Linked DNA regions of Homo sapiens: region 2 is linked to region 1. Evidence: promoter capture Hi-C in human tissues and cell types (Jung and others, 2019). All regions are on one chromosome and are shown on one strand. The core of a region is centred on a gene start or on the middle of the fragment in contact, and the rest is flanking DNA. Distances in the headings are between cores, read along the strand shown.

Region 1 (3,157 bases), core at 373-2,872:
CTTTTGAAGTCTACCAGATTGGTGGTAGTATGGCCTGTGTTTTGAGTGGGTAGAGAGCACTTTTGAGGGAGTGAGGATTATTTCATCCAAAGGGCTGAAGCTACTGTTATCCCGTGTCATAGCTTCTGAGGTACTGAATGAGTAGGATCTCCTGGCCCTCCCATCTCTGTGGGTACCTCGTTCATACTTGCGACCTCAATATAGCCTCAATCCTGCTGAAGCCCAGTACTATCTCTAAATGTGGTTTATTGCAGGAAAAAGTAGCTTCTTGACTAGCCAAAACTTGACTGCCGGTTGTCAACTAGCCAGTTTTTGAGAAAAGTGAGAGGTTGTTACGTAGGAAACCTTATAACTAGAGGCTCTCAAACTCAAGTATTTAAGTATCATCTTTTAGATTTCTGTGTCCAGGATCGGGTTGCACTGGGTGGTGCTGGAAAAATTTTTTGATCTCACCTCCTTCTAGCCTTTTGAATCCTTAAAAATATTCCCATAGACATTTATACACAGTCCTGGGCGGTTCTTCCTTCTCCTTCCGTGAAATACTGGTACCTGCTTTGCCAACACCTATGAAAGTGCTCCAGGAGGAGGGCGGATAAGCAACTAATGAGCACACCTGCTCAGGTAGGGTTCTAAAACAATTTCCAGCCACCTGTTCTATTCTTCCCCAGAGTTCAAAAGCTTAATGGTTCGTGATCCAAAAACCCAATTCAGATTCCCCAGAAGACCTCCCTGGAATCCGTTGTGGATTCCTTCCTAGAGTTAGGAGGCAAGCAGGTTTCTTAGGCACTATTCTGTCGGGGTAGGGGGGAGCGTGCGCTGTCCGGGTTTGTGTGGTTGCAATAGACCCTAGGGCGAGGATCGCATCCCGGGCCAGGACTCCCTTGAGCCATCTCTTTTTCCTCGTCCCCATTTCTAGGATAAAACCCATTTCTCCGGTAGGTGGGGAGGTTGGGTTAGAGTCACACAGGGATTCAGGAAGCTTTCCTTTTCAACGTCCCATCCCTTCATCCTTTCCTCCCACTTCCCGTGGCTCTTTTCTCCACCTTCCCCAACTACCCCCTTTTCCATTCAGCGAAGTCCACGACGACTTTCCTTCCCTGTCCAGTGGCATCGCATCTTCTCTAGCCACATAAGCCTGTTGTGGAGGAGGGGGCGCCAGTGTGGCTACCCTGGAAGGGGTGTCGGGGGTGGCTCGCAGGTCCTCACTCACCCAGCCCTCTCCCCGAGGAGCGACCCTCTCGCCCGCGTCCCTCCAGAGCTGCGCCGCTCATCAATCCCGGTCACTCTGCCAGCCTGCTCCCCGGGCGCCCTTCCTTCTCCCTCTCGCCTGCGGTCCTCCACCCTCCCACCCCCTACCTACCCCGCAGCGACGTTCGGGGTCAGCGGCGCTTGGGGTTGGCCCGAGAAGGGGCGGGGATAAAGCGAGCGGTGGAAGGAGGCGGCTACGTGGTGCCACCGCCGCCCGGGAGCGCCCGACCCCGTGCGCGCGCGCGCCTAGCCAAGGCTTGGGCGGCGGGCGGAGCTGCGGGCGGCGCGGGCGGAGGAGCAGCCGGCCGGGCGGGCGGAGCGAGAGGCGGGCGGAGCGAGGGGTGGGAGGGCGCGCGCGAACGGGCGGGCGAGCAAGCGAGCGGCGTCTCCACCAGCATCTGCCGCGGCCGCCTTTGCCCGAAGCCCGGGGACGAACCGACGGACCGACCGCCTGGCGCACGGACGCGGGCGCTCGCTTTGTGTTCGGGGCTAGCGTCGGCGAGGCTTGAGCTTGCAGCGCGCGGCTTCCCTGCTTTCTCGCGGCCACCCCGGCTCCGGCGGCCTCGGCGCGCGAGGGGCTGGAGGTGCGGGAGCCGCTCTCCGCCGGTCGGTCCCCGCGCGGCTGAGCCCAGGCCGCCAGCGCCGCGGCCCCGTGCGGTGTCCCTGAGCTCCTGCTCCCCGCCGGGCTGCTCCGAGCAACGGTGCTTCGGAGCTCCAAACTCGGGCTGCCGGGGCAAGTGTCTTCATGAACCCAGAGGATGTCCGGGAAGCACTACAAGGGTCCTGAAGTCAGTTGTTGCATCAAATACTTCATATTTGGCTTCAATGTCATATTTTGGGTAAGTTGGAGCGCTCCTGGGATTCCAACTATTGTGGCCGATCGATTCGCGACGATTTCCCCCACGTTGTTCGTTGCCTTTACTTTTCGCAGCCCCGCAGGCGCTTGCCGGAGCAGCATAGAGGCATTCGCCTTCCGCCTTTCCAGCTTGCGCGTTGGAGAGATAAACATTTAATCCTTTCGAGGAATGGGAAGAGGTGAAAAGAGAAATCGAGGCGGAAAGGGGGCACCGAGGCCTTCTGGTGGCTTTTTGAGGAACGAATAGCAGGGATGCAGATAAAAGAAAGGGTTCGGCAGTTTGAGAAATGAGCAACCACACGAATTGGATTTGCTCTCGGTGGGATATAGATGTTGGGCAGAGCGTGGTGTCATAATAGGGAAGGCTAATCGGGCACGGCCGACCCTGAGGTCCACCTTCTAACAACGATCTGATTGGACGAGGGCTTGGCTCCGTGTTGCCGCGGCTGGTCTGTGCCATGCTCAGCGTGTATCTTCTTGCACCATCTCGGGCTTTGTGTAGGATGCAGATGCCGTGGTATATGGTCCTGTAATTGCACGTAAATAACGTTTCCTGCACGCTCTCCTCTTCAGCTGGAAAGCGCTCCCTGTGCGTAATGGACTGGTCAGTGGGGGTGCGGGGTAGAGGGATTTATTTGTATGTATATATCATCGTCAGGATAATAAGTCACCGTCAACATATATTTCAGTGTGTTCCTGCCCCACGTCCTCATTTTTAAAGGAGTGACACAGAGCGGGCCGTTTGGGGGAACCTTTGTAGAAATGCAAAGGAGAAGGTGTGCGAGGCATGTTTTATTGGGGAACCGAGAGAGCAAATGCTTTAACACAAGATTCAAATGATGCTCTGCTTGGGACTGCAATGTGTTGGGAACCTATTGTAATTAGGCTGGGACGCCTACTCTTTTTGTTTGTTTGTTTGTTTTGATTCTTTTCCTTGATCTGGCAAACGTGTTCAGCAGCCAGACAAAGAGTTCTCCAGGACAAGGGGAAAACGTTGGTTCAAAGACCATGTTATTTTTCTTCCCCTTCTCATCCCATCTCATCCTCTTCCTC
Region 2 (3,157 bases), core at 378-2,877, 410 kb after region 1:
ATAAAAGTCCTCTGTGTTACTCCAGAATTTGGAACCAAGATGGGAGATGAGACTCAAGAGTTACTAGATGAAGATCAAAATGGCAGCTTTATTACTGAGTCTGCTGATTGGAGAATTGCAGCCAAATGGGCTTCCAAATACTCCTCCCACTGTCATCACCCTGAATACATTTACCTCTCTATTGTCCCAGGCAGAGCGGAACTGCAGGCTTTCCTTCCAGGGGCAGGCTAGTAAGTCACTGGCAGAGAATTAAGCCATTTTCAAGGAAAGAACCCAATAAGACACACATGCTCAATTTCTCTTCCCCTCTCACCAATGAGAGGATTCTCTCTTCCCCTCAGGGAGAGAAAGGAGTACTAAGGGATGAGAGTAGATGAGGCAGTTAATGAGAGGGACCAGGAATGTTTCCATGGTCTTCTTCCTGTTGATAGAAAGTTCTCTCCTCTCTATGAAATGTGTGGAGTGGGGGTAAATATTATCCTTACACTCCTATCAGATGGGTCTTTTAGGCCATGATTTGGAATCAGAATTTCATTTTAAATACTAAAAGAAAGCATTGAAAGCGTTTTACCCATAAAGCTACATAGACCGACCGACAGTTTGGAAAGATCACTCTGGCAGCTATGGAGATAAGTGGAAATAAGGTGAGCTTCCAGGAGGCTGTTGCAGAGATCAGGGTGAGACATGCAGAGGCTGCACCAGGGCAGTTGTGGTGGAGAAGGAGAAAAACAAGCTTTTCTACAGGTAGAAAATCTGGGGCTTGCTGATGAATTGGATTTAGAAGAGAATGTAAAGGAGGAGTTTAGGTTAAATATTAAAGTCCTGGTTTAAGTGATTGGATGAATGACCACGTCATGTACTGAAATAAGGAAAACTGGGAGAGAAATAAGATGGCAACAGAATTATACTCTGGATTTGCCAACATGAAAATTGTTGGTGAGTCAGCAAGAATAATTTCTGTGAATACTGGGAAGGGAAGTTAGATTTAGGGTTTGAAGAACTAGTAAATGATTGTGTGTGTACACACACTTTTTAAAAGAAGTTATGCTGTGGAGGTGAGCAGAGAAATGGCATAGTAGGGGAAATATGAGATCTTAAAATATTTTTTGTTGTTGTTTTATACTGAAGGAAATAATCTGTTGGTGACACAGGGTAGACAGAATAACTAGAGGTACAAAACTTTTGGAGAGGCAGGAGTGGGTGAGGATCCTGAGAGAAGGACACCCAACGTGAACCTTTGTAACAGAAATGAAGACCATGCATATACAGGGGGGTTGGTAGATTTGATGTCAAGAAGATGGAAAGTCTCCACTGAATAACTTCGATTATATTTATGAAGCAAGAGAAGGGGTCATTAATGGAAGGTAAGAGAAGGGGCATGGGAGATAGAAGATTTGAGGAGAGAAGAGAGCATGAAGTCGTTGTGTCCAAAATTATGATTGCAAACCTAAGGCAGAAATAAAGTAGTATTTGCTGGGCAGTGTTGAATGGCCATTTAAGGTTTGGAATCATTGATGAAGAGTTTAGTATGTCAGCCTGGTCGTGTTATTTTCCTCAACAATATTTCATTGTTTATTTGAGGTCCTGATGTGGCCAAGTAATGGTTGCAGTGCAAGTAATAGCACATGTGAACTGAAAGGATAAAATGTTTAAAATTTATATTTCAGAGGTGTTTCAGTTTGTAAGTTTTAGGGTGTGACCATGGGAACAGGTGGTTAAGGAGGAGTAGGGAAAAAATTAAGAAGTCTAGAAACTGAGAGAAAGGTTACTAGCTGAGTCATCACATGGGTGTGATGTATTGGGCCTGTAGTAGGTGGGGTGTGAGGGAAAAAGCAGATGTCACTTGAGAGGACTACTGGGTAAAATTTTGTCCTCAAATGGGAAGTTACTTAAAGTCAAAAATTTGAAGGGAAAATTCCCAGAGGATTGAGTATGTAAGATAGGGTTTTGTTATGTATTGCTGCCCAATAGACCATGTGAAAACTCAGTGTTTTAAAATAACAATTTTATTATCCCTCAAGATACTGTAGGTTGACTGGGCCCAGCTGGGTGATTCTTCTGATTCACATGATGTTAAATGGAGCTGAAATCACTGGAGGCTTTGATAGGGCTGAAACAGCCAAAATGGCTCATTCACATAACTGGTACCTGCTTTAGTGGAGATGGTGGGATAGCTGGGCTCAGGTAGGATGGCTAGTTCTCTCTCTCTCTCTCTCTCATCTCAAGGTCTCTCTTTCTTCACATGAACCTTCCAGCAGTATAGCTGGACTTTTTACATGGCAGCTCAGGGCTTGCAAAAGTGCAAAGGTAGAAGCTGCTAGGCCTCCTTGGGACTTAGACCCAGAATTGGCACAGTAGCACTTCTGCCTTTTTCTTTTGATTAAATTGAAGCACAAGGCCAATCCAGATTCAAGAGAAGGGACTCACAATGATATCAGTACCAGGAGATGTGATCCAATGGGAAACATCTGTGGATATTAGCTACAACAGGAAGTTTATTGATCCTAGATCCAGAATTTTTTGAGGGTAGATTGGAAAGGCTGAGGTAGAACTGATGGTTCAGTTTAGAAGATTACAAAGCAGTATGGGAATGAAAGAGCAAATTGTGGTAGATGACAGAGGGACTTCCACCTCCCAACATAACAGAAGTAAACAGAAATTTGAGGCATGACGGGAGTGGTTCTACTAAAGCAGTGATTTCCAAATTTCTTTATGATCATGCACCCCTTACTAAAATTTGTGAACACTCCTCAAATATTATAATTACATAATTATTAATTATATATATTTAATAATATTTTGGCCAGGCTTGGTGGCTCATGCCTGTAATCTCAGCACTTTGGGAGGCCAAGGTGGGTGGATCACTTGAGGCCAGGAGTTCAAGGCCAGCCTGGCCAACGTGGTGAAACCCCGCCTGTATTAAAAACACAAAAGTTAGCCGGGGCATGGTGGTGCATGCCTGTAATCCCAGCCACTCGGGAGGCTGAGGCACGAGAATCACTTGAACCCAGGAGGCAGAGGTTGCAGTGAGCTGTGATAGTGCAACTGCACTACAGCTTGGGCAACAGAGCAAGACTCTGTCTCAAAGAAACAAGCAAACAAATATTTTACTGTAATATATACTTTGTAAAAGAACCAAAAACAAAAATTAAGAATG

What was found. The method cuts DNA at HindIII sites, captures the fragments that hold promoters and counts their contacts. A contact is called where the count stands out against the background at its distance.
Region 2: a contact is called between a fragment that was not itself captured here and the fragment with the promoter of TSPAN5 in region 1, in 1 of the 25 tissues and cell types used here (spleen).

The regions. Positions count from the first base shown.
Region 1 is chr4:98,657,076-98,660,232 of GRCh38, reverse strand. TSPAN5 (tetraspanin 5) reads left to right here and starts at 1,622. Exons shown (of 8, transcript NM_005723.4): 1 at 1,622-2,087. The coding sequence starts at 2,007. TSPAN5-DT (TSPAN5 divergent transcript) reads right to left here and starts at 1,331. Exons shown (of 3, transcript NR_148380.1): 1 at 1,211-1,331. LOC112267901 (a long non-coding RNA gene) reads right to left here and starts at 1,510. Exons shown (of 3, transcript XR_939016.3): 1 at 1,361-1,510. RefSeq lists silencers at 1,465-1,644, 1,898-2,057. The HindIII fragment of the contact is 6,297 bases long and covers 315-3,157 here.
Region 2 is chr4:98,247,812-98,250,968 of GRCh38, reverse strand. No RefSeq gene overlaps it. Among named protein-coding and RNA genes, the nearest start is that of RAP1GDS1, 12 kb to the left of the region's middle. The HindIII fragment of the contact is 4,160 bases long and covers 1-3,157 here.